Regions from separate parts of the Homo sapiens genome. Here all the other regions are linked to region 7. Evidence: promoter capture Hi-C in human tissues and cell types (Jung and others, 2019). All regions are on one chromosome and are shown on one strand. The core of a region is centred on a gene start or on the middle of the fragment in contact, and the rest is flanking DNA. Distances in the headings are between cores, read along the strand shown.

Region 1 (3,499 bases), core at 805-3,304, 370 kb before region 7:
ATTAGCAGAAGAACTGGGATTAAACCAGGCAGGCCTGTGCAGCTCTAAAGACCTCGCTGTAACCTTAGGTTCCTGGCCCTCCCTACTGAGCTCCTCTGAGGCTACCAAACCAGTGTCTGCAGTGACAGCATCTTTAGCCTTCCCTGGGGCTGCTGGGCTAATAGGGCCTTAATAAAGCCAGCAGAGGCATCTGCAGCTTTGCAGGGCAGGAGCTGAGGGGCCTGGTGCAGAAGATGTGTCCTGATGAAAATATCAGGTGGGGAGGGGGAGGGGACCATGGGGTGAGCCGCCTGCTCATGTCTCCAGCTTCCTGACCTCTGTGGCTGAGTCACTGGAAGCCTCCAGGTGCAGGGGACAATCAATTCCATCACTCATTCCATCCATGTTGGCTTACTTCCTTTCATCCATCCATCCATCCATCCATCCATCCATCCATCCTCCCAATCACTCATCCTCCCTCCCGTGCTGCCATGCATCCACCCATCCATGAATCCACTCAGCTACCCATTCCTTCCCTCCTTTCCTCCTTTCATTCTCTCCTTCCTTCTGCCCATCTGTCCATCCAGTGTTTACTGAGCACCTATCTTGAGCCAAGCCTTATGTGACGTGCCCAGGTTCCTCCCTCTGAGGGACTCACATTCTCAAAAGGATGCAAAACAACTAACCCCAAGTGCCCAGGGCCCTAGGAGAGGAGAGGGCATCTCAGGGGCTCTGACACTGGGCTCTGCACACCTTCCTCAGCCAAGGCCGCCAGGTGACCTTGGGCCGATCACACTCCCTGGGGACCTCTCTTCTACATATTCAAAAAAGGGTGTGCTTGTCCATTCGGCTGTTATGACAAAATACCTTAGACTGGGTTATTTATAAACAAATTTATTGTTCACAGTTCTGGAGGCTGGGAAATCCAAGATGAATGTGCCTGCAGATTCGGTGTCTGATGAGGGCCGTTTCCTCATAGATGCCTTATAGCCTTGTCCTCACGTGGTGGAAGGGGTGAGCAGGCTCCCCAGGCCTCTTGCCTAAGAGCATGAATTCCATTCATGAGGATAGAGCCCTCATGACCTAATCACCTCCCAGAAGCCTCACCTCTTTTTTTTTTTTTTTTTTTTGAGACGGAGTCTCACTCTGTTGCCCAGGCTGGAGTGCAGTGGCGCGATCTCAGCTCACTGCAAGCTCCACCTCCCGGGTTCACACCATTCTCCTGCCTCAGCCTCCCCAGTAGCTGGGACTACAGGCGCCCCCCCACCATGCCTGGCTAATTTTTTGTATTTTTAGTAGAGATGGGGTTTCACCGTGTTAGCCAGGATGGTCTTGATCTCCTGACCTCGTGATCCACCCACTTCGGCCTCCCAAAGTGCTGGGATTACAGGCGTGAGCCATTGCCCCAGGCCAGAATCCTCACCTTTTAATACACATTGCAGATAATGGTGTTTTTTTGTTTTGGTTTGGTTTGGTTTGGTTTTTGTTTGTTTGTTTTGAGACAGGGTCTCCCTCTGTCACCCAGGCTGCAGTGCAGTGACCTCATCTTGACTCACTACAGTCTCGGCCTCCCAGGTTCAAGCAATCCTCCCTCCTCAGCTTCCCGAGTAGCTGAGATTACAGGTATGTGCCACCACACCTGGCTAATTTTTGCATTTTTTGTAGAGACGGGGTTTCACCATGTTGGCCAGGCTGGTCTGGAACTCCTGACCTCAGGTGATCCACCCGCCTCAGCCTCCCAAGGTGCTGGGATTACAGGCATGAGCCACCAAGCTTGACGCAGATTATGTCTTGACATACGAATTTTGGGGGGAGGGGGGTCAGGTCATGGTAAATGTGGTGCATTGTGATGTCTCCTATTCTGTATTTCTACAATCCCAAACAGGTGAGTAAGAACCCAACTAACTACTCCCCCGAGCACCCATTCCCACCCCGGCCTCTGGGATCTGCCTCCAACACCTGCAGGTTCCCCAGATTGAGGTCCAGGTCCGCTCCAATTGACCCAGACAAGCTGCGGTGGGACCTGGCAGAGGTGGGGGCCGGGGCAGAGCACTGGACTCAGAAGCAAGAGGCCAGGGGCGGGGTCTGGCTCTGTCCTGTGATGTGTGACCCTGAGGAAATGGCATTCCAGAGCTCAGATGAAATACCTTAGAGACTCGGGAAATGTCAGCTGTTGGGGGCATTACTGTTATAATTATTGCTGTCATATTGTTGCTACAAAAGAAGCTGGTTAGAGCCACTGGCTTTGGGAGGCATCGTTCATTCGGTGGTTACCACTCGTTCACCCACTCACTCAATAAAAATTTATTACTGTGGCTGGGCATGGTGGCTCACACCTGTAATCTCAGCACCTTGGGAGGCCGAGGCGGGCGGATCACCTGAGGTCAGGAGTTCGAGACCAGCCTGGCCAACATGGTGAAACCCTGTTTCTACTAAAAATACAAAAATTAGCCAGGCATGGTGGCGGGCACCTGTAATCCCAGCTATTTGGGAGGCTGAGGCAGGAGAATCGCTTGAACCCTGGAAGCCGAGGTTGCAGTGAGCTGAGATTGTGCCATTGCACTCCAGCCTGAGCAACCAGAGCAAAACTCTGTCTCAAAAAAAAAAAAAAAAATGGCCAGGTAAGGTGGCTCACGCCTGTAATCCCAGCACTTTGGGAGGCCGAGGCGGGTGGATCATGAGGTCAGCAGATCGAAACCATCCCGGCTAAGACGGTGAAACCCCATCTCTACTAAAAATACAAAAACTTAGCCAGGCATGGTGGCGGGTGCCTGTAGTCCCAGCTATTTGGGAGGCTGAGGCAGGAGAATGGCGTGAACCCAGGAGGCGGAGCTTGCAGTGAGCCGAGATCGCACCACTGCACTGCAGCCTGGGCGATAGAGCAACACTCCAACTCAAAAAAAAAAAAAATTTATTACCGTGATCTGTGCCACGTGTTGGGCCCTGAGCCAAGTGCTGGGGAAGATACTAGGTAAGACAGGATCCTGCCCTCCAGAGAGGGCGTTGAACAGGTAGGTGTCACCTCGATTGCCAGGTCCCCATTTAATAGAGGCTGTGTTGAGGATTCTGAGACTACATCTCGGCTTAGAGGGAAAGAGTGCTGTGATCAATTAGTAATGTCTGCCACATTCACAGGGAGAGGAGTCTACACTAAGGCATTTCCTGGCCTTAACACTAAAGAATAGGCAGGATTGGCCGGGCGCAGTGGCTCACGCCTGTAATCCCAGCGCTTTGGGAGGCTGAGGCAGGTGGATCACGAGGTCAGGAGATCGAGACCTTCCTGGCTAACACAGTGAAACCCCGTGTCTACTAAAAATACAAAAAAATTAGCCAGGCGTGGTTGCAGGTGCCCGTAGTCCCAGCTGCTGGGGAGGCTGAGGCAGGAGAATGGTGTGAACCCGGGAGGCGGAGCTTGCAGTGAGCCAAGATCGCACCACTGCACTCCAGCCTGGGAGACAGAGCAAGACTCCGTCTCAAAAAAAAAAGAATAGGCAGGATCTCAGACAGGAGACCCTCGTGA
Region 2 (3,583 bases), core at 550-3,049, 470 kb after region 7:
GTGATGCTCTTCGCTCTTGAGCACTACCAGCGGACTTGGTGTCTTTCAGAGTCCTCAAACCAAGGTCCACAGTGCCCCCTCTGCCCACAGGACCAATGTCATCCTCTACATATCACTAGAAAATTCATAATAACCACTTCTGAGACCATAGTGTATGCCAGATACATTGCTGAGTGTTTTACAAGCATGACCTCAAGAAGACTTTCATCATATAAAAAAGGAAGATGAGGAATCCTGTGCTCAAGGCCCGATCTTTACTATGGAATTAATATTGGGCGGTTAATTGTTTTTCCCCAAGTCCCCAGACAGCAGTGAGTGGAGTCAGGATTCCACCCAGGAGATGACCTCAGAGCCTGAACTTCCAGCCCCTCCCTGCCCCACCTCCTGCACCCTGCTCCATCTCCTCCTCCTCCCGCATCCAAGGTCTTTGGGGTCCCTTTTGTTTTCATTTGCTAGTGCTACCTTAATGAGATACCAAAGACCTGCTGGCCTAAAGAGCAGACACTTATTTTCTCACAGTTCTGAAGCTGGGGAGTCAAGATGAAAGTGTTTATAGGTTTGGTTTTCACTGAGGCCTCTCTCCTTGGCTTGCGGGTCGCTACCTCCTTGCTGAGTCCTCACACGGTCTTTCCTCTGCACGCTCATCTCGAGTGTCTCATTTTTGTGTGTGCAAATTTTCTCTTCTCACGAGAACACCAGTCAGATTCGATAAGAACCCACCCTCATGACTTCATTTTCACTGAATCACCTCTTTAAAGATTCTCTCCAAATTCAGTCACACACCGTGCATTAGAGCTTCATTGTATGAACTCTGGGGGACACAATTCAGCCAAGAACTCTCCAACCTATGGACCCAAAAACTCATGTATTTTTCACTTGTAAAGCGCATTCACTCCATCCCAACAACCCAAATCCTGAACTAACTCAGCACCAACTCTAAGACCAAACTCTCATTTAGGTATAATCCAACTCAAGTGTGGGTGTTTCTCCAGGATGATTCCTCCTGAGGGTTTAAAGGATAACAGCTTTAGGGGGTTTCACCTCCTCTCTCCTGTTGTCATCTGGGTCTTCAGAAAAGTCAAAGCTCCCACTTTATTTGCTATGATTGGAAGAGAAGAGTGAGTCAGCATCAGCGACATCTGTGAGTTAGATGTGGGGAAGTCACAACTGTCCACTCTTGAAATAATTTAAATACCCATTAATTGAATTTATTAATCATTAGTCATGGGATATCTTTGCCACTGTTTGAAAAAAAAAAAACAGAGCTGATACAGATAATAGAACAAAAAATATCACAAGTTAAGTTGTTCTAAGGGCAGAAATGTCCCTATTAAGAAAGATAAATCACAGACAGAAATAGTCAAAAGAAAACTCACCTCACATGCATATTAACCTACTATTTCCAATGTTAACATTAAGCATCCACATTTGATATGCAAATAGAGACTCTCCTAATGTTTATACAAAAGTGCATTATGTTTTCTGTCTCATATTGACGTTCCCTTTCGGTTCCCTCCTTGGGTGAGGGTGATCTTTGACTGTGGTGAAGAAGGGTGTTCCATGAGATGTTCTCTTATACCTAAATATATATATAGACATATAGAAGAGGGTAATTTACAGCATAAACATAGTTCCACCAAAAAGGTCCTGTTCTTTTCCTGGCAACTTTCCTTGGGGTCTTTATCGTTTAACATCTCAAACTCTTTTCCTTATCCCATTGTTAAATTCTGAGTTTTAGAATTTTTGTGGATTATAAAAATAATGAATGCATTAAAACTTAAACTATGTTTTTATTTGTCATCCTCAGAACCTCTATGGTCTCTTGTGGTTTTGGCTTCAGTCAAATGCTGATATTAGGACCCTTTTCTCTGAGCCTGCTGCAGTGGATATTCCAGCTTTGGTACAAGCTTCCTTGCCCACTTGCTCCTCCCCCTCTCTCTGATTTTCCACCCTGGATAGTGTATTCCTGATATACTGTCACACTCCCAAAAATCACAGTAAAAGGACGGACACAAAAGTTATGAGTTTATGACACAGGGCTATCACAGATAGACCCAAAATCCATCCAAAAAATAAGAAAAGTGTGTTCTTATCTAGAGAGAAATCTCAGGCCACTATAGGCGGTGAAATACAGTATTACCCACAAAAAGATCTCCACCTAAAATATATGCTGGTGAAATTTTTAAACTTCAAATGACCCTACAAAACAGGGACCATTAAACCACATCCTGTGGCCACCCCTGGCCTGCCACCTGTTTTGTGTGGTCCCAGAGCTGAGAGTGGTTTTTATAGCTTTAAATGGTTACATTGTAACTGGAGTTATAAGTTCCCTCATAATATGGTCAAAGTTGACTCTTGGCCCACAGGGGCTAAAACCCTCCTTACCTGGCCATTTTAGAAAAAAGCTCACTAAATCCTAAAATATAAGAGCCCTGAAATGTTTGAGAAAATGTTCAACCTCAAGCAGAATAGGAGAAATCCAAAATAACACTGTTACAAGACAACAAAATTTTAATCTACCATGTTGGCAAAAACCCAAACTTTCAACAGCATACTCACGTCAAAGATTTATGGCTGGCACTGTAAATTGGTACAACCCCCCCGTGAATAGGAATCTGAGAATAATCAGTGAAAATTACAAACGTACTTCTTTTTGACCTAACAATTCAACTTCTAGAGATTTATTCTATGGTAATCTTCATAGGTGAACTCCAAGGAGTCTGAATAGGGATGTTCATTGCAGAATTATTGTAAGATCAAACTCTTGGTGACAACTCTGGGCTAGTTGGTTAAAATACGTGTGATGGTCTTTGACATGGGCATCAGCACAGGGGCCGTACACTTTCTTAGTTAACACCAGAGATGCCTTTTGTCTAGGGCAATGTTTTCCCCAGTACTGAGGCAAAGCTCTTCTCACTGGTAAATCTCACCCACTTTAACTCGGGCCTTTCTTCATGGAGCGGAGGAACAGGCACTATTCTGATTGTGCATGTGTGTGCACATGGATGTGTGTGTGAGCTCTATGGAGTGTTTCCTCAAATGTCTTTGAATGGTTATTTTCTCTATCACAGAAGGTTTCCTCCCATGCACATGCTCATCGGTGCTCATGAATATCTGCAGACTCCAGAGTGCGCTCCCTGTGCAGCTCTCTCCTCTTTGATCCTCTTTCTTCTAGACAGTATTTGGTTTGTTTGTTAATTTGTGAACTCCCTGCAATCCTACTCTGAGAGGGAGAATTCATTGCAATAGGGTTTCAGGAAATTTTGTCAGAAAGAAAATTGTGAGAGGCATGACTGGGAATGTGTTACACCGGAGCGCTCAGCAAGAGACACTTCGTGGTTATTTTAAATGAAAACATGGCATTAAAATCTAGGGACCAGGCAGGCATTGCACCTGAACCACACTGTGAAGGGGGAACATCACTGGGAGAGCAGTTCTCTGCAGCTCAGTGGCATTTTCCAGTGGGGAACAGCTGTGACAAGTCACGGTCTCCCACACAGCCTTGTTTGGATGCTGGATGCATGAGTCCTGAAAATGGCACCTAGATGGAGACACTGCAATGGGCACTGGCCATGATTCTTCA
Region 3 (3,708 bases), core at 689-3,188, 420 kb after region 7:
CTTATTGATTACAGAGTGGCTCTGGTACTGTAAAGCTTGAAATATCTTCTTCCTTTTTTTCTTTCCCCTTCGTTCCTTCCTTCCTTCCTTCCTTCCTTCCTTCCTTCCTTCCTTCCTCATCCTTCCTTCTCTTTCTTTCTTTCTTTCTTTAACAGGTTTTGCTCTGTTGCCCAGGCTGGAATGCAGTGGTGCTAACAGGGCTTACTTCAATTATTTTTTAAACAGAAATATATCTAATTACATTAATCAAATTTCTTTTCAATGTAACCAACATTTCTTTTAAGTGATGAATTAAATATTTATCATGTTTTAGCCTCTACAGTTTACCTTCTGCAGCCTCAACTTCTCTGGCTCCAGCAATCCTCCCATCTCAGTCTCTTGAGTAGATGGGACTACAGGCAGTGCCACCATGCCTGGCAAAGTTTTATAACTTTTGGTAGAGATGGAGTTTCATCATGTTGCCCAGGCTGGTCTTGAGCTCCTGGGATCAGACAAAACTCGCAGCTCGTCCTTCCAAATTGCTGGGATTATAGACTTGAGCCACCATGCCCAGCCAAAAGGTTGAAACATTTTCTAAGTTTGAAAACAAAGTTCATGTTATTTAAATACCTGTTACTTAAAATTTGGAAGACATGTTAACACCATAGAAACCCAGAGCCTGCATTTTTAGATTAGTAACCTGTAGATGTTTTTCATTCCTTCTAAAGTTGAAACAATAAATATTTTGTATTCAGATAATTCTTGATAACAGAAGGTAACTATTTAATTTTTCACTTAAAAGAAATGCGGTTACTTTGAAAAGACATTTGGTTAAGGTAAGTCAGATAAATTTCTGTTTAAAAAATAACTTAAGAAAAATAATGCTCAAAGAGCAGCGGTCATGGGATTTATCCCAGAGAGAGGAAGTGGATCTTGTTCTGCTTGTGATAGCAAAAGTGTATGGATCAAGATTATTCTATAGGGTTATAGATTACAAGATAGCATAACATTTTATTTTAAAAATGAAGACAATTTTTGGTACATGTATTAAATGTAAGAGAATGAACAAGCAGCTTAAAAAATGAACTTCTCATGCTCACTTTTGGGGGATATTATGGGATACAAACAAGTGCAGAGAGCAGTGTGAGGAATAAAATTCTCATCCTGGCTTAGGAATAAAATTCTCCTTCTGGCTTAGTGTGGGCAGAACCTCACAGTCTCTGAGCAACCCCACGATGTGGTATGGTTAGGGCATGGCCCCTCAATACAAAACGTGTTCTCATTTAGTGAGAATCGAAATAAAAAAAATACTACTAACCTCAACACCGAATGATTGGTTCATCATTTGATAGACCCTGTGACTTTATAACACATACAATTGTGTTATCATTCTATAAGGTTTATCATTTGTGACATTTAAAACAAGAATAATTTCAAATTTGAAGTGAAAGAAGTCCTTTAGAGAAATACATTTCAAAATACAACCCCCTATCTATCTATATCTATATCATCTATGATATCGGCCATTTTCATATTGCAAAAAGCAAGGGCATTCTTCTAGGCCTTCTAAATGTTATAGGATCACACAGACATTGACACAATGGCGATAGACACAGATAGATGTTAATATTATTTGGAAAACAGTTTCATTTCTAGTGTGATGAACAAATGATTAAGGTGTTGGTGGTCTTAGGCATTATTTCCCACTAGGGTCCATATTTTTGCGTGTGAAAAATAGTTACTAGAGGGAGAGCAAAGACAGAGCACTCTCATTGTTCCCAGAGAATCGGACTAGAGAAATGTGAAGTCACCTACCTTCACCAGCTTTGCATTTTTTGTCTTTTTGATCATAGCCATTCCAGCTAGGGTGAGATTGTATCTCACTGGGGTTTTGATTCTCATTCCCTCACTAATTAGTGATGTTCAACATTTTTCTCGTATGCCTGTTGGCCATTTGTATATCTTCTATTGAGAAAAGTCTCTTCAAATTCTTGGCCCATTTTTAATGATATTATTAGTTTTTTTATGCTAATGAGTTATTTCAGTTTTTTTAAAATTTTCATACACTGAATGTTAGGCCCTTGTCAAGTGAACAGTTTGCAAATATTTTCTCTCATTCTACATGTTGTCTTTACTCTGTTGATTGTTTCCTTTGCTTTTCAGGAACTTTGTAGTTTAATGATGTCCCATATCTCTATTATTTGTTGTTGCCTGTGCTTTTGAAGTCTTGGCCATATAATTTTTTATCTAGAACAATGTCCTAAAGAATTTGTTCTTCCCCTATGTTAAGTTCCCTTCTAGTAGTTTTATAGTTTGGGGTGTTATATTTGGGCCTTTAATCCATTTTTAGTTGATATTTTTTTGTGGAGAGGATAAGTGTCTAGTTTCATTGTTCTGTAGATGGGTATCCAGTTTTCTCAGCACCACTTATTGAAAATTGTGCCATTTTCTCAGTGTACATTCTTGACATCTTTGTTGAAAGTCAGCTATATATAGATATATGGATTTATTTACGGGTTTTCTATTTTGTTATATTGGTCTCAGTGTCTGATTGCATGCCAATAACTTCCTGTTTTGGTTACTATAGTTTGTAGCATATTTTAATTCTAGTAGTGTGATATCTTCAGCTGTGTTCTTTTTGCTCAGTATTGCTTTGGCTATTCAGCGTCTTTTAGGGTTTTATACCAATTTTAGAGGATTTTTTATTTCTGTGAATAATATCATTGGTATTTTGATAGGAATTGCATTGAGTTTGTAGATTGCTTTGGGTAGTAAGTTTCTTCATTTAATATTTTCTAAATGTAACTCCACTGATTTAGGCTTGCATTACTTCTAATAAGAAATCAACTATTACCTGGGGATGGTTACTGGGTAAGAAAAAACTAGTTAGAAATAATCAATAAGGCCTACTATTTGACAGCACAACAGGATGACTATAGTCAATAACAACTTAACTGTACATTTTATAAAGCTAAAAGAGTGTAATTGAATAGTTTATACTACAAAGGATAAGTGCTTGAGTGAATGAATACCGAATTTTCCATAATGTGGCTATTTCACATTGCATGCCTGTTTTGAAACATCTCGTGTACCCAATAAAAATATATGCCTACTATGAAGCCACTAAAATTAAAAAAATTTTTAAAAACCAAATTTGTTCTTGTCATTTTGTTGTTCACCTGTATCTCTCTCTCTCCCTTTCTCTCTTTCTCTCTCTCTCTCTATCTCTCTCTCTCTCTCTCTGTGTGTGTGTGTGTGTGTGTGTGTGTCTTTGGGACATGTTAAACTTTTTGGAATAGGAGGTTTCTAGTTTTCACAAAATTTGGGAAATTTTGGTCATTGTTCCTTTAAATTGTTTTTCTGCCTTTTCTCTTCCCTGTCCAATCTTACCTCCTTTAATGACTTTCATTATACCAATTTAGGCAGTTGAAGATGTCCTAAAACTCACTGATACTCTGTTTACGCTTTTGTGCTTCGTCTTGAATAGCTGCCATTGCCATATCTTCAAGTTCACTCATCTATTCTTTCACAGAATCCAATCTGCAATCAGTCTCATTCAGTGTATTTTTTATTGCAGACATATTATGGATCATTTATAAGAGTATAACTTGCGTCTGTCTTTATATGTTTTATGTATCCACTTAATATGATTTTTCAATCTTATATCCTCAAGAACAAGTAGAATAGAATAGAGTTATAAGAATTTCTTTCATATCCTTGCCTACAAGG
Region 4 (3,325 bases), core at 298-2,797, 440 kb after region 7:
CTAGAAGCTCCCAGCAGTTGAGGTTGGGTGAGCTCAGAAAAGGGTATTGAGGCAGATGCCACAGTGTCCCCTCCTTGGCTTTTCCTGTTCAAAATCCCAGGCTGCCATGGAAGCCTGGAAGCTCAGGTGTTGAGCTGAGGTGGGTATTTTTCGGGACTGATGTAGGATATTTTGAAGAAGGAGTGACCCAATCACCATCGTATGGAAATCTAAGGTCAAGTGATGGTTCTCTACATCTCTTTCATCTTCCATCCAGTTCTTATTTCCCCAAGTCACTCATGAGGCCCCAAAACACCATAAATTCTGATTATAGCAGCCTTAAATCCACTCCTGCTCCACCCTCTGCAGAGCCAACCTGGACAGCTGGAAAAAAGGATGGCCTGGAGGTCTCAGATCCAGTAGAACTTGGCCAGACCTGCTCATTGCTTGGTCCACAGTCTTCCTGGTGCTGGAGGAAGAACACAACACAGATGAAAAAGGAGTTTGTGTCTCACTTCCCCATCTGCCTGTGTCACTGAGGGATTGTCCTCATCCCCAGACAAACAGTAATAGTCAGCCTCGTCTTCGGTCAGGACCCTGCTGATGGTCAGGGTGGTCGTGTTCCCTGAGGTGGACCCAGAGAATCGTTCAGGGATTCCAGGGTACCGCTCACTATCTTCGTATATCACCAACTCAGGGGCCTGGCCTGGCTTCTGCTGGTACCAGTCAGCATAATTTTCCCCCAGTACATCTCCAGAGCAGGTGATCCTGGCTGTCTGTCCTGGGGACACTGACACCGAGGGTAGCTGTGTCAGCTCATAGGAGGCAACAGAGCCTGCAAGAGAGGACAAGAGAGGGGGCTTGAAGATAACAAACCCATTCCAGTAGTATCGCCCTGAGGCTATGCCTGGGCTGAGCTCAGGGTTCAGGGTAAGACCAGGGGCTTAGGAGGGCTGAGCCTGGGGCAGGGTCTGGGGGCAGCACCTGTGTAGAGGTTGAGGAGTGGGAGCAGGAGTGTGGCCCATGCCATGGTGAGACACCCACAGCTCTGCCTCCTGAGCCCACAGCACAGCTGGGCTTCCCAGGCCTCTCTTATTTCCTCTCAGGCCCACTGGGGCAGTGCATCCTTGGTGTTTATGCAAATTTACTTCTCTGGGACTCCTCATGGCGGGATATCCCTCAAGCCAGCTCTGGGGGCAGCATGAGAAACTTAAAATGAAGGGGTGAATCCCCAGCTTCCTTCGTCTGCTTCTCCAGTCAGAAAATCAGCCTTGGCCTCCAAGGCCTGTGATCACAGTCACCGTCCTGGGGATTGACAACATGGTCCCTGTCTCAAACCTCTGTGTCATGTGGCCTGTCCTGGGCTGCATTGAGCAGGACTATGGACCTTCCAGGAGCCTGGCCTGGGGCTGAGCTGGGCCCTGTTGAGAAATCACTGATGACGCCTGACTCAGCAGCAAGTACACCAAAGATGCATCATCTTTCTCCTCTTTCATCCCTGCTCCGGATACCCCCGAGTCACTTGGCCCCATCCTGGTAATGTTATGTACATGATGTACTGTGTCTGTAGGACACTTATGAATCATTGCAGTTGGAAGAGTTTTGTCATTTGAGCAACCACACATATTTCGGATGCATCCCAATCTCTAGTCTCATTTGACATGTGGTGCTGCTCTTTCCATGGTATCCCCCAGCCCCACAGTAGACCAGCAATTGCCATCCTCAACTCTTCCTTTATTTATTCACTTTTTCTCATCAACGTTTTACGTAAACTTGCGAAAAGAACCAGAGAATCACACTGGACTGAAAATCTAACTTTAGGCTGCTTGGTCTTTCTGAGGGTCCCCAGGTCATGGTCTCCACACAAGACATGAGCTCCAGAGAGCATGTGGTCAGTAGTCCCTCCAGCCATGCAGATCCTGCCACTGATCAAAGGACAGCCCCGTGGTGAGAGCTGTGGCCTGAGGCAGGTGAGAAGCCCTGTTCCTCTGGACAGCATCTCCTGAAGGAGGCTGGTGATGCCTCATGCAGGGACCAGGGCCCCAAAATGCTTCACGCCACCCACCTGAATCTCCCCTGAGCACAGGAGCTGCGTCCTGAGTCAGAGTCCACCTGGAGCTGGAAGGAAAGGCAGAGGCAGGAGGGGTCGGGTGTATCTGGAAGTGCCCACGATAGAGGGCTCAGCTCCCCAGGACACTGCTGGACAGGGAGGGACAAGGCCCTGAGAGTGGCAGGAGGCTCAGGCCGCCATCCTGGGTGAAGAACCTGGGCCCTGGGAGCCCTGTCACCTCACATTGTGCCCCTCCTAGAGCACCTCGGCCTCAGGACTTCTCCCAGGGAATCCCCTTCCTAAGGAAGCTGCCCAAGCTGACACCTGGGCCCAGCCTCTTCTAGTTGCATTTCCCAGGTGAGGCCTTCACTGTGCCGGGCTTCTGTCGGTGTCCTTGGGTGACACTGTATGAATCTGACCCTCAGAACGTGGTCACTGCAGCCCGAGGGGATAGGATGAACTGTCTTCATTTTCAGTCTGAAGACTGACTCTTGGACACCTGTTGAACCCCAGGCTGGCCTTCCTCTTCGCCCCAGCTGGGCAGCCCCAGCCTCTCTCCTCACTGCTCCTGGCTGCAGCTCTGCTGCCCCCAACTGGTGGAGGAGACTCAGCCCAGGAGCTTTCTTCTTCCAGGTGACCCCACAGCACCTGTCACCTCAGAAGTTGAGGACCAGAGAGTCCAGCCCCATTCTGTGCCAGTGTGACCCAATCTGCCCTGCCCAGCCCAGCACAGAGAGGTAACACACGCAGTTCAGTGGGGTGGGGCAGGTGCAATTGCTATAGAAGTGTCTCAGGGTTGAAATGCCCTCCTCTAATGGTTTTGTTCAGTCAGGTCTAATTAGAGTGAGTCAACTGAAGCTCTTCTGCAACACTTTCAAAGTCCAGAGAGATGTGCATGCCATCCTACAGGGACCCAGGCTTTCTATGCACTTAGGAAGCAAACTGGTGCACCTCCCACCCAGTAAGAGCAGCTATGATTCACTGCAATCACCAGGTTTCTGGTTCTGCAGCTTAGTTGTGAGCTAACATCACCATCATAGGCACATTAATTTCATGTTTATCTTTATTTCATTCCACACCTCTCAGAGCTTGTGCCAGGAGGATTTCTACCCTAGCCTTGTCTGTCTTGCTGATGAAACTAGGACTCTCCTGCTTATACTCAGCTGGAGATCACTGTTCCCATCATACAGAAAGCAAGCCCTTTTGAGTCCCTTTCTTGGAATCTCTGCAGAGGAAAGACAAGAAGTTCCATGTCTGAAGCCCATTGGAGCCCATTAAATGACATCCCCTTAGAAG
Region 5 (3,216 bases), core at 235-2,734, 390 kb before region 7:
TTGTATTAAATAGTTAGGCAGACAGTAGGAGAAATACACAAGGAAAGGCCAGGTGCCCCGAACCCAAGTCCAGCGCCTAAAATCCTGCCATTCATTTCCAAGTCTCTCGTGGGCCCTCTCCCTCCTTCTCTCTGCTCCTCTTTGGGGCACACCTGTGCTCTATGGTCTGCATGGAGGGGACCCTACCCTGAAGGGGTGGCCTGCCCCTCCACACCTCTGGGTGTTTCTCATCAGGTGGAATGAGAGACTTTACTTTTAGTTTGCCCCATTAACCCTGGCTTCTTCCGAGCGCCCAAGCTTACCACAAGGCTCACTGTAGACGTACTCGGGAATCTCTCGTTGACTTGTCCTCAATGACCACACTCGAGAGTCCCTTCACCCTAGAGAAAAGCATCCACGTTGGGCACCAGATGGAGTGGCCTGCGCCTCCACAGCTGTGGGCATTTCTCCTCAGGTGGAACGAGAGACTTGAGAAAAGAAAGACAACAGAGACAAAGTATAGAGAAAGAAAAGTGGGCCCAGGGGACCGGCGCTCAGCATATGGAGGACCCGCGCCGCACCGGTCTCTGAGTTCCCTCAGTATTTATTGATCATTATCTCTACCATCTCGGAGAGGGGGATGTGGCAGGACAATAGGGTAATAGTGGGGAGAGGGCCAGCAGGAAAACATGTGAACAAATGTCTCTGCATCATAAACAAGGTAAAGAAAAAAGTGCTGTGCTTTTGATGTGCATATACATAAACATCTCAATGCCTTAAAGAGCAGTATTGCCGCCAGCATGTCCCACCTCCAGCCCTAAGGCAGTTTTCTCCTATCTCAGTAGATGGCATATACAATCAGGCTTTACACCAAGACATTCCATTGCCCAGGGATGAGCAGGAGACAGATGCCTTCCTCTTATCTCAACTGCAAAGAGGCCTTCCTTCCTCTTTTACTAATCCTCAGCACAGACCCTTTACGGGTGTCGGGCCAGGGGACAGTCAGGTCTTTCCCTTCCCAAGAGGCCATATTTCAGACTGTCACATGGGGAGAAACCTTGGACAACACCTGGCTTTCCTAGGCAGAGGTCCCTGCGGCCTTCCGCAGTGTTTGTGTCCCTGCTTACTTGAGATTAGGGAGTGGTGATGACTCTTAACAAGCTTGCTGCCTTCAAGCATTTGTTTAACAAAGCACATCCTGCACAGCCCTGAATCCATTAAACCTTGAGTCAACACAGCACCTGTTTCTGTGAGCACAGGGTTGGGGCTAGGGTTACAGATTAACAGCATCTCAAAGCAGAAGAATTTTTCTTAGTACAGAACAAAATGGAGTCTCTTATGTCTATTTCTTTCTACATAGACACAGTAACAGTCTGATCTCTCTTTCTTTTCCCCACACTAGCCAAAGGCAGTCCTTGTCCCACAGGGGCCCAGGAAGAATGTCCTAGTAGATGGCAGTGGCAGAGGGAGGCCCTAGAGGTACAGCAGTGGAGGGGACATGAAGCTGCTCCTGAGCTGGACCTGGGCGTCCTCTAGTTCATCCCAGTGTGGGGTTTTGAACTGTGCACTCTGTCAGCAAAGAGAATTTGGAGACAAATAGAAGAGGGGCTCCAAGGTAGTGGGAGAAGCTCAAGTGAGCATTTACTCAACAGCCTCCACCACCAGAATCTTTCTCAGGGGCTGAAGATGTGGTGGGTGGCACACAGCGTCACACAGGACACACAGGTCCTGCGGAGGAGACGCGGTACCATGAGATACGAGGAAACACAGACGTCAGGAGAAGACAGTGGTGGAGAGCGAAGTGCTCCAGGCCAGAGCCTGTGGCCTCCAGCTCCCCTTACAACAGCCCCCAGAGGCCGCCCCCAGTTTGTGGGTAAGGAAGCTGAGGCCCGAAGACCTGAATCAGTGACCAGCAAACATCGAGGCAAATTTGAACAGAGGCTCAGCCTCAGTGGGCGGCTGCGAGCTGCTGAATTGTGACTGAAGTGGCACACAGGGACAGGGACGGTGCTCAGGGCCGGCCTCTCATAGGGCTTTTGAGCTGGGGCTCGATGGACCAAGTCTTGGCTCTGGGCTGGGCACACGGCTTTTTGGCAGGCATCTCACTTCTGGGTAGCCTGCCTGTGGCTCCATTCTAGCGACCAGGAGCCTGAGGCCCACAGAGCTTACGGAGCAGCCTGAGTTCTCAGGGCTGGGGAGAGTAGCCAGGGGCTCAGACCTCGCCGTGCCATGCTGGCCCGTCCACCATGCTGCCCTGTTCTCACACGGCCAAGTGCTCCCAGCACACAGGAGGAGTCCAGGCGGGAAAGGGATGGAGGATGAACGTGACCAGGCCTTGCCTTCGGAGGGGTGAAGGTCTTCCCAGTGTCCCCCAGCCCCCCTGCCCACTCCCAGAGGGACGGCCCTGCAAGCGGTGGCCACCAGGACCTTGCAGGGGGTGAGGGTCCAGGCTGCCGAGGAACCAAGGAGAGGCCGCCCTCGCTTCCCACATGCCCGGGCCCTGGGTCCCTCAGCCTCCCGCTGGCCTTGCCACCCAGCTCTCACAGACACTGGCTCAGGAGCAAGCAGGAGACCCCTGGGGTGACCTGCCAGACCTGCTGGGCCCAGGCTCAAACCCTGCAGCCACTCCCGGCCTGGCCACTCCACCATGTCTCCCAGCCCCATCTCCCTCTTGAGGGCCACGTCTCTGGGTTTTGTGAGGCTGAATTCTTCTCAGCTCTCAGGTGTTAAGACTGTCTCCTCAAAGAGGCCTTCCTGAGCCCCCGCTCCATGACTATCCTGCCAGCATTCTCTCTTCCTCGGGTGGCTGTGGGTTTGTTCCTGCCCAGGTGGAGTGGGCTACTTCCCGCCACGCTGTCCCTCTACCCTTAGGATCCAGGGCAGACCAGTGGGGGCGGGGGGAGTTTCGCCGCAGATGCTAGTGACTCCAGGGGACAACCCAGGTCCCTTCCCCTCTGGGGTGCTCTGAGTCCTGAATTGACTTGGAATGTCCAGGCCCAGCCCTGGCTCTGGGCCCTGCTAGATCACTGGTGGGTCTTCTCCAAGGAGCCAGGCCCCAGCCTAGGCCCACCCTTCCAGTGACGTGAACAAAGGGAGGGTGGGGGCTGCTGTCTGGAGCAGGCCTGGAAGGGGAGCCCACTGCTTAACCCTGACAGCCCCTGCCAGACTCCCCAGGATCCAGTAGTGGAGCAAGGGGGTGGGAGGGGGCAAGGGGTGGGAGGAGACCAGCTTAGGTGC
Region 6 (3,633 bases), core at 328-2,827, 420 kb before region 7:
CGGCCTGTGCGGTGGCTCACGCCTGTCATCCCATCACTTTAGGGGGCCAAGGAGGGGCAGACCACTTGAGGTCAGGAGTTCAAGACCAGCCTGGCCAACATAGTGAAACCCCGTCTCTACTAAAAATACAAAAAAATTAGCTGGGTGTGGTGGTGGGCACCTGTAATCCCAGCTACTCAGGAGGCTGAGGCAGGAGAGTTGCTTGAACCTGGGAGGTGGAGGTTGCAGTGAGCCGAGATCGCACCACTGCACTCCAGCCTGGGTGACAGAGCAAGACTCCATCTCAAAAAAAAAGAAAAACAAGCTAACAAAAACAACCATCTGGTCTCTGGGCATGGTGGCTCACACCTGTAATCCCAGCACTTTGGGAGGCTGAGGTGGATGGATCACATGCAGTCAGGAGTTCGAGACCAGTGTGGCCAACATGGAAAAACCTCTTCTCTACTAAAAATATGAAAATTAGCCAAGCATGGTGGCGGGCGCCTGTAATCCCAGCTACTCGGGAGGCTGAGGCAGGAGAATCACTTGAACCTGGGAGGCAGAGGTTGCAGTGAGCTGAGATCGCGCCATTGCATTCCAGCCTGGGCAACCAGTGAAACTCCATCTGAAAAAAAAAAAAAAAGAGCTGGGATCCTGATTTTCATCCCCAGCTCCCTGGGGCAGAGCAGGTTGTGGCTGGGCCCACCTGAAACCTACCCCTCTAGAGGAATGATACCTTCACCATTAATCAGCAGACAAAATGTGCCATGGGACAGGCTCAGGCAAAGCCAGTCTCCTTGGCAGCGTCCTTCCTGCACATCCCCTCACTCTCCACCCCCACTTCTCGGAGGAAGGGGGGTTTCCAGGCTGGGGCAAGTCCTCCTGCTCCCTCCATCCATCTGATCCTGGCTATGCGTCTGGCTGTCCGACCATCCTTCTTCCTCCCTGGCAGGTGAGCCATTAAGCTCCAGGTCCCCAAAGCACCAGCCTGCAACCTCAGCACTAAGTGCATTTGCTGCCATTAGCAAGAAGCCTTGGCCAGGTTAGTCCAGTCTAATGCACAGGCCACCTCATCCCTACTCCCTGGGCACTGCTTGTCAAAACTCCATCCATTGAGGAATAACAGAACCTGAGAAGAAAAGATGGGGGCTCCAGGACCCAACATGGACAGTCGTGTAGGTTGCTCACTGCACAAGTGGAGCTGCAATTCAGCCAGTCCTCCATTTGCCAGGCTGAGGGCCCTGGCACAGGCTGCGTCCTGCACATGGGGTGGTGCCCTTTTCTAATCCCTTCCAAGGTGCTATAGGGGAAGAACCATGGCCTGTGTGGGTTGCGGGAAGAAACTACCTGAGAACTCGAGTCACCACATCTTTTTTTTTTTTTTTTGGACAGACTCTTGCATTGTCAGCCAGGCTGGAGTGCAATGGTGCAATCTCAGCTCACTGCAACCTTTGCCTCCCAGTTTCAAGCCATTCTCATGCCTCAGCCTCCCAAGTAGCTGGAATTAGAGGTGTGCACCACCACACCAGGCTAATTTTGTATTTTTAGTAAAGACAGGGTTTCACCCTGTTGGCCAGGCTGATCTCAAGCTCCTGACCTCAGGTGATTCACCTGCCTCGGCCTCCCAAAGTGCTGGGATTACAGGTGTGAGCCACCGTGCCTGGCCGCTACATCATTATTTTCCAAGTTGCATTTTGATTAAATTCCTTTTGGAGTACAGTTCTATGAATTTTATGACAAGCATCAATTTGTGTAACCATCACACTATCAGCATCCAGAACAGTTCTATCATCTGAAAAGGCTTCCTCTTCCTATCTTTTTGTAGCCACGCCCTGGCCTCACCCCTAACCCCTGGCATCCACTGATGTCCATCTCTATATTTTGTCTTTTGGAGTGTGTCATATAAATGGAATTGTGTAGTGTGTGATCTTTTAAGATTGGCTTTTGAGGGAGGTGGGGGGGTCAGCCCCGCGCCCAGCCAGCCGCCCCGTCTGGGAGGGAGGTGTGGGGGTCAGCCCCCGGCCCAGCCAGCCGCCCCGTCCGGGAGGGAGGTGGGGGGTTCAGCCCCCTGCCCAGCCAGCCGCCCCGTCCGGGAGGGAGGTGGGGGTGTGAGCCCCCCGCCCGGCCAGCTGCCCCGTCCGGGAGGGAGGTGGGGGGGTCAGCCCCCCGCCCGGCCAGCCGCCCCGTCCGGGAGGTGAGGGGCGCCTCTGCCCGTCCGCCCCTACTGGGAAGTGAGGAGCCCCTCTGCCCGGCCACCACCCCGTCTGGGAGGTGTACCCAACAGCTCATTGAGAACGGGCCATGATGACAATGGTGGTTTTGTGGAATAGAAAGGGGGGAAAGGCGGGGAAAGGATTGAGAAATCGGATGGTTGCCGTGTCTGTGTAGAAAGAGGTAGACACGGGAGACTTTTCATTTTGTTCTGTACTAAGAAAAATTCTTCTGCCTTGTGATCCTGTTGATCTGTGACCTTACCCCCAACCCTGTGCTCTCTGAAACATGTGCTGTGTCCACTCAGGGTTAAATGGATTAAGGGCGGTGCAAGATGTGCTTTGTTAAACAGACGCTTGAAGGCAGCATGCTCCTTGAGAGTCATCACCACTCCCTAATCTCAAGTACCCAGGGACACAAACACTGCGGAAGGCCGCAGGGTCCTCTGCCTAGGAAAACCAGAGACCTTTGTTCACTTGTTTATCTGCTGACCCTCCCTCCACTATTGTCCTATGACCCTGCCAAATCCCCCTCTGTGAGAAACACCCAAGAATGATCAATAAAAAAAAAAAAAAAAAAAAAAAAGATTGGCTTTTTTTTTTTCACTCAGAATAATCATTTTGAGCTCTGTCCAAGGTGTTGCCTGGATCAATTCTTGGCTCTTCTTTATTACTGAGTGATAGTCCATGGTATGGATGGACCACAGTTTGTTTATCTATTTGGGTTGTTTCTAGGCTATGACAAATAAAGCTTCTATGAACATTCATGTATGTGTCTTTGCATGGACCTAAGTTTTCATTTCTCTGGGATAAATGCCCAGGAGTAGGTTGGCTACATCATACGATATGAATATGGTTCACTTTTTAAGAACATGCCAAACTGTTTTCCAAAGTGGCTGTATCATTTTGCATCCTCAGCAGCAATGCACAAGAGTTTAAGTTGCTCTGCAGACTTGTTAGCTTTTGGAATTATCAGTATTTTTTTTTTAGCCATTTAAGGATGCGGGGAGTGATATCTCATTGTAATTTTGACTTTTATTTCCTTGGTGGCTAATAATGGTTGAGCACCTTTTTATAGGTTCAGTTGTCATCCCTGTATCTTCTCTGAGGGAGTGTCTGTATGAGTCTTTTTTCCACTTTTAATTAGTTTTTTTTTAACTGTTGAGTTATTAGAGTTCTTTATAATTTCTGGATACAAGACTTTTGTCAGATAAGTGATGTGCAAATATTTTTTCATAGTTCATTCTCTTAACAGTATCTTTCTTAGAGCAAAAGTTGTAAATTTTTATGAGCTGAAAATTATCAATTTTTTTCTTTATGGATTAGGCTTTATTGTCATATCTAGGAACTCTTTGCCTAACACCAAGTCCCAAAGAATTTTTTTTTTTGAAACATAGTCTTGTTCTGTTGCCCAGGCTGGAGTGCAGTGGGGTGATCTCGGCTT
Region 7 (3,695 bases), core at 1,196-3,695:
CACACCGGAGTGTGCTGCACACACTCTACTGCACTCTGTTCCATGCCCTGCATTTTTACTTAACGGTTTACTTTGGCTCTCGTTGCATGTCAGCTCCTGAAGAGGTTGCCTCATTCTTCCTCATGTCTGTGCCAGGAAGCATTACTTGTTTAACCAGTCCCCTCTCCGAGGATGTTTACGTTGTATCTTATCTTCTATTCTTACAAACTGCTCCAACCCCTATCCTTATGCACATTGTAAACCCATGCCAGAATATCTGCCAAGTAAATTCCTAGAAATAGAATAGCAAGGCCAGTTGTGGTGGTCCACACCTATAATCCCAGTGCTTTGAGAGGCCCGGGTGGGAGGATTGCTTGAGGCCAGGGGTTCAAGACCAGCCTGGGCAACATAGCAAGACTTCATCTCTATTAAAAAAAATTAAAAATTAGCCAGGCATGGTAGCACATGCCTGTGGTCCTAGCTACTCCGGGAGGCTGAGGCAGAAGGATTGCTTCAGCCCAGGAGTTAGAGGAGTGAATTATGATGGCACCATTGCACTCCAGCCTGGGTGACAGAGCAAGATCCTGTCTCTAAAAAAAAAAGAAAAAAGAAACAGAATGGCTGGATCTTAGAGGGCAGGGTCATCTTCTATATTGGTAAATATTGTCCACTGCCCCCTATGGAGGTTGTACTCAATTTGTATTCCCTGCTGCAATTAATATTGGATTTTAATACAGACACAAGAGAGCTGTGAGTTTTCAAGCTCATAGAGGCGGAATGGCAAGAGGAGAGAGCCCTGGATTTGGGGTCATGGAACTGGAATGCTGTTTTGATAACAACAACGATGATGAGAACAACAGCAACTATGACTGCAGGGGAGCTCCTGCATACCATGAGCCAGGCACCCAATATGAGAGGAATTACCTTCATGTAACAGTGGCTCTGAGAGGTTGAGTAATTTGCCCACAGCCACACAGCTTAATGACAGAATCAGAATGAAGGATTCACATCAAGGACTGTCTGGCTGCAAAATCCCAGCCCTTATAACCTCCAGGCCACACTGCTGCCCAGTGTCACCATTAACTTGCGGTCCCACCTTGGGCAGTCAGTGACCAGTCTCCCAGCTCCTCAAGGTAAATCTGACAATGGACAGACCTCCTTGATTCACCTGCTTTACTTCTAGGCATGAGTGTAGAGTGGGGAGAGCTGATGTGGCTGCAGGGCCAGGAGAGCACTGCAGACGTAATGACTCTCTACCTTAGGGAAGCTGGCGATGACACGGTCGCGGCTCACAGGGGGCCCCAAAGGTGTCAGGGAGGACCTCATTCTTCCACAGTCCTGTGGACCCAACCAGGAGAAAGACAGTTAAGGAGCTGTGCAAATACCTGGGGATTCACCCATGAGTTTCCACCTAACTTTTCATCAGATCCAGGCTGGGTGCAGTGGCTCATGCCTGTAATCCCAGCACTTTGGGAGGCCAAGGTGGGAGGATCACTTGGGCCCAGGAGGTTGAGACCAGCCTGGGCAACAAAGTGAAACCTCAGTCTCTACAAAAAAAAACCAAAAAAATTAGCAGGGCATGGTGGCCTGTGCCTGCAGTCCCAGCTACTTGGGAGGAAGGTGGGAGGAATGCTTGAGCCTGGGAGGTCAAGGGTGCAGTGAACCGTGAAGGTGCCACTGCACTCCAGCCTGGGTGATAGAGTAAGACCTTGTCTCAAGAATTATAAATAAAACCAGATCCAGGCTTCCCTCTCTGTCAGGAATATGGGGCAGAGGCCATTTCTCTCAATCTGCATACAGCAGGCAGCATGGTATGGGGGAACCAGGCCTGCCCCACCCTGCCTGGGAGTCAGAAGACCTGGGTCTCCCCTTGACAGGTGTCTACCAAGGAGGAGCTCCCCTCTGAGCTTACCTTACTGGGCTGTGAGGCATGGCACAGCTCAGGCAGTGGAAGTAGAGTGGGGAGGGGTCTCCTGCTCCCAGTCTGCAAAGGACGAAGGCTCTAGGTGGGCCTGGGGGCCTTAACTTTCAGCCAACTAGGCCTTTTCCCTGAAAACCCTCACTTCACCAGGCCTCTGACTCCTCGAGCCTCCTCAACAGCCCCTCTGTCTCCTTTTTCTGTCCGGACTCCTCTCCAGGCTGGGCTGGGGTGGTCCTGGCGGAGTCCGGTTGTCTTCCCGCATCTGACCTGGCTCTCCTCCACAACCAGCGCGGGCCTGGCCCAGAGTTTGCGCTCCGGAAATGAGGACGCCCCGGGGCCGCAGGCCGCTTTCAAGTTATAGGGGCGGGAAGTGGGCGCGGACGCTGTGCCCTCGCGGCCCTGGCCTCGGGATGTGCCAGCACGGGGTTGGGTGACCGGGAGGGTCGGACAGAGTGGGCGAGCTGACTCACCAGCGATGGCTGTGAAAGCTGGGGCTCCGCGCGGCCTGGTCCGCCTGAGCCAGCGGCGGCGATCACCATGGCAACGAGAGCCACGCGGGACCTGCGGGCTACACGAATCGTCGACGTCGTGGGCGGGGTCTGCGTTGGACTGGCAGCGGCGCGTCCAAGCATCCAGCTTGCACCGGCGATCACCATAGCAACGAGAACCTGCCTGGAGTCTGGGCGGGGCTGGCAGCAGAGAGACTCCTGGACACCCTGGAGAGCCGGAGATCACCATGACAACAAGGGCGGTGCTGGATGGGTGGGCGGTGGGCGGGGCTATGGAGGCCCGGGGGCGGAGCCTGAGCCCTGGGTGGGGCTGACCGTGGAGAGATTCGCGCAGGTTCTGGTGATCAGCTCGGCTGGGAGAGGTTGGGCGGTTATGGCATAAGAGCTCCTGATGTGGTATTGATGTTTAATTGGAGTCAAGCACCCTGCAGCTGCAGAAGATAGACCTGCCTACCATCTACTGACCTTAGTCTGCATAGTTCTGAATCCAGTGCTGTCTGAATATCATATGCCTGGCTTCTAGAGCTCACGGTACAAAATTAATTTCCTTAATAAAAAGCTGACCTGAGTCAGTGATTTCCTCTGAACTAGTTTCGGTTTGGAAAGTTAGCTGTTTTGGGCTAGATGGCCTCTTGTGGCCCTTATAAAACCGTGGAACCAGCTTCGAAGTCCGGGGTTCAGTTTGAGAACCTACTTAATTCAGCTCCTTAACTTTTCTGCATCACAATATGGAAGCCTTGGTACACAGATCTAACTCAGTCATCTTCAATTCAAAGCTAAGTGTGCTGGAGGCTGGTGTTTGATGTCTTTTTTTTTTTTTTTTAAAGAGATGGAGTCTTGCTATGTTGTCCAGGCTGGACTCGAACTCCTAGGCTCAAGGAATCCTCCCGCCTCAGCCTCCCCAGTCCTTGGGACTACAGGCAAGGGCCACCACACCTGGCTCTGTTTAATGTCTTTTAGTGAGTTTCACTGCTAAGGTTGAGGCTTAGGGGGTGAACTTAGGTGAGTTGTTCCACCTTCCGCACCTCAGTTTACTCAACTATAAAATAAACGCAACTATCTATTTCAATGGATCACCTGAGATGGTGAAAGTGCTTTTATACTGTAAAGCTTGATTCAAGTCCATTAACTATTCATTTGTCCTACATGTACTGAAAGCTTCCTGGTATATGCCTAGCACTGGGGAGACAAGGAAAGAGAACGGACATGGTGTCCACCCTCAGGGAAATTGGAGTCCACTGCGGGAAGCAGAGAAGTAAATAGAGAATTAGGGGAAGGGAGTGTGC

Evidence for each region. Contacts are between HindIII fragments. The study calls those that stand out against the background at their distance.
Region 1: a contact is called between a fragment that was not itself captured here and the fragment with the promoter of RAB36 in region 7, in 1 of the 25 tissues and cell types used here (dorsolateral prefrontal cortex).
Region 2: a fragment that was not itself captured here is called in contact with the fragment with the promoter of RAB36 in region 7 in 1 of the 25 tissues and cell types used here (lymphoblastoid cells).
Region 3: a fragment that was not itself captured here is called in contact with the fragment with the promoter of RAB36 in region 7 in 1 of the 25 tissues and cell types used here (IMR-90 fibroblasts).
Region 4: a contact is called between a fragment that was not itself captured here and the fragment with the promoter of RAB36 in region 7, in 1 of the 25 tissues and cell types used here (stomach).
Region 5: a fragment that was not itself captured here is called in contact with the fragment with the promoter of RAB36 in region 7 in 4 of the 25 tissues and cell types used here (bladder, dorsolateral prefrontal cortex, hippocampus and 1 more).
Region 6: a fragment that was not itself captured here is called in contact with the fragment with the promoter of RAB36 in region 7 in 3 of the 25 tissues and cell types used here (IMR-90 fibroblasts, heart right ventricle and lymphoblastoid cells).

What each region holds. Positions count from the first base shown.
Region 1 is chr22:23,515,063-23,518,561 of GRCh38, reverse strand. No RefSeq gene overlaps it. Among named protein-coding and RNA genes, the nearest start is that of LINC02557, 3.5 kb to the right of the region's middle. The HindIII fragment of the contact is 4,353 bases long and covers 1-3,499 here.
Region 2 is chr22:22,669,254-22,672,836 of GRCh38, reverse strand. It overlaps IGL. Among named protein-coding and RNA genes, the nearest start is that of GGTLC2, 26 kb to the right of the region's middle. The HindIII fragment of the contact is 4,680 bases long and covers 1-3,583 here.
Region 3 is chr22:22,722,530-22,726,237 of GRCh38, reverse strand. It overlaps IGL. Among named protein-coding and RNA genes, the nearest start is that of LL22NC03-102D1.18, 13 kb to the right of the region's middle. The HindIII fragment of the contact is 4,264 bases long and covers 1-3,708 here.
Region 4 is chr22:22,702,013-22,705,337 of GRCh38, reverse strand. All of the region lies in intron 2 of LL22NC03-102D1.18 (a long non-coding RNA gene), which reads left to right. It also overlaps IGL and IGLV3-22. Among named protein-coding and RNA genes, the nearest start is that of LL22NC03-102D1.18, 7.9 kb to the left of the region's middle. The HindIII fragment of the contact is 8,195 bases long and covers 1-3,325 here.
Region 5 is chr22:23,534,223-23,537,438 of GRCh38, reverse strand. LOC124900476 (endogenous retrovirus group K member 5 Gag polyprotein-like) reads right to left here and starts at 558. Exons shown (of 2, transcript XM_047441690.1): 1 at 303-558. RefSeq lists enhancers at 372-988, 1,604-2,220, 2,221-2,836. The HindIII fragment of the contact is 4,075 bases long and covers 1-3,216 here.
Region 6 is chr22:23,559,615-23,563,247 of GRCh38, reverse strand. No RefSeq gene overlaps it. Among named protein-coding and RNA genes, the nearest start is that of IGLL1, 19 kb to the left of the region's middle. The HindIII fragment of the contact is 9,054 bases long and covers 1-3,633 here.
Region 7 is chr22:23,144,227-23,147,921 of GRCh38, reverse strand. RAB36 (RAB36, member RAS oncogene family) reads right to left here and starts at 2,445. Exons shown (of 11, transcript NM_004914.5): 1 at 2,371-2,445; 2 at 1,237-1,317. The coding sequence starts at 1,305. It also overlaps a transcript of RSPH14 not described here. RefSeq lists a silencer at 2,623-2,692. The HindIII fragment of the contact is 15,551 bases long and covers 1-3,695 here.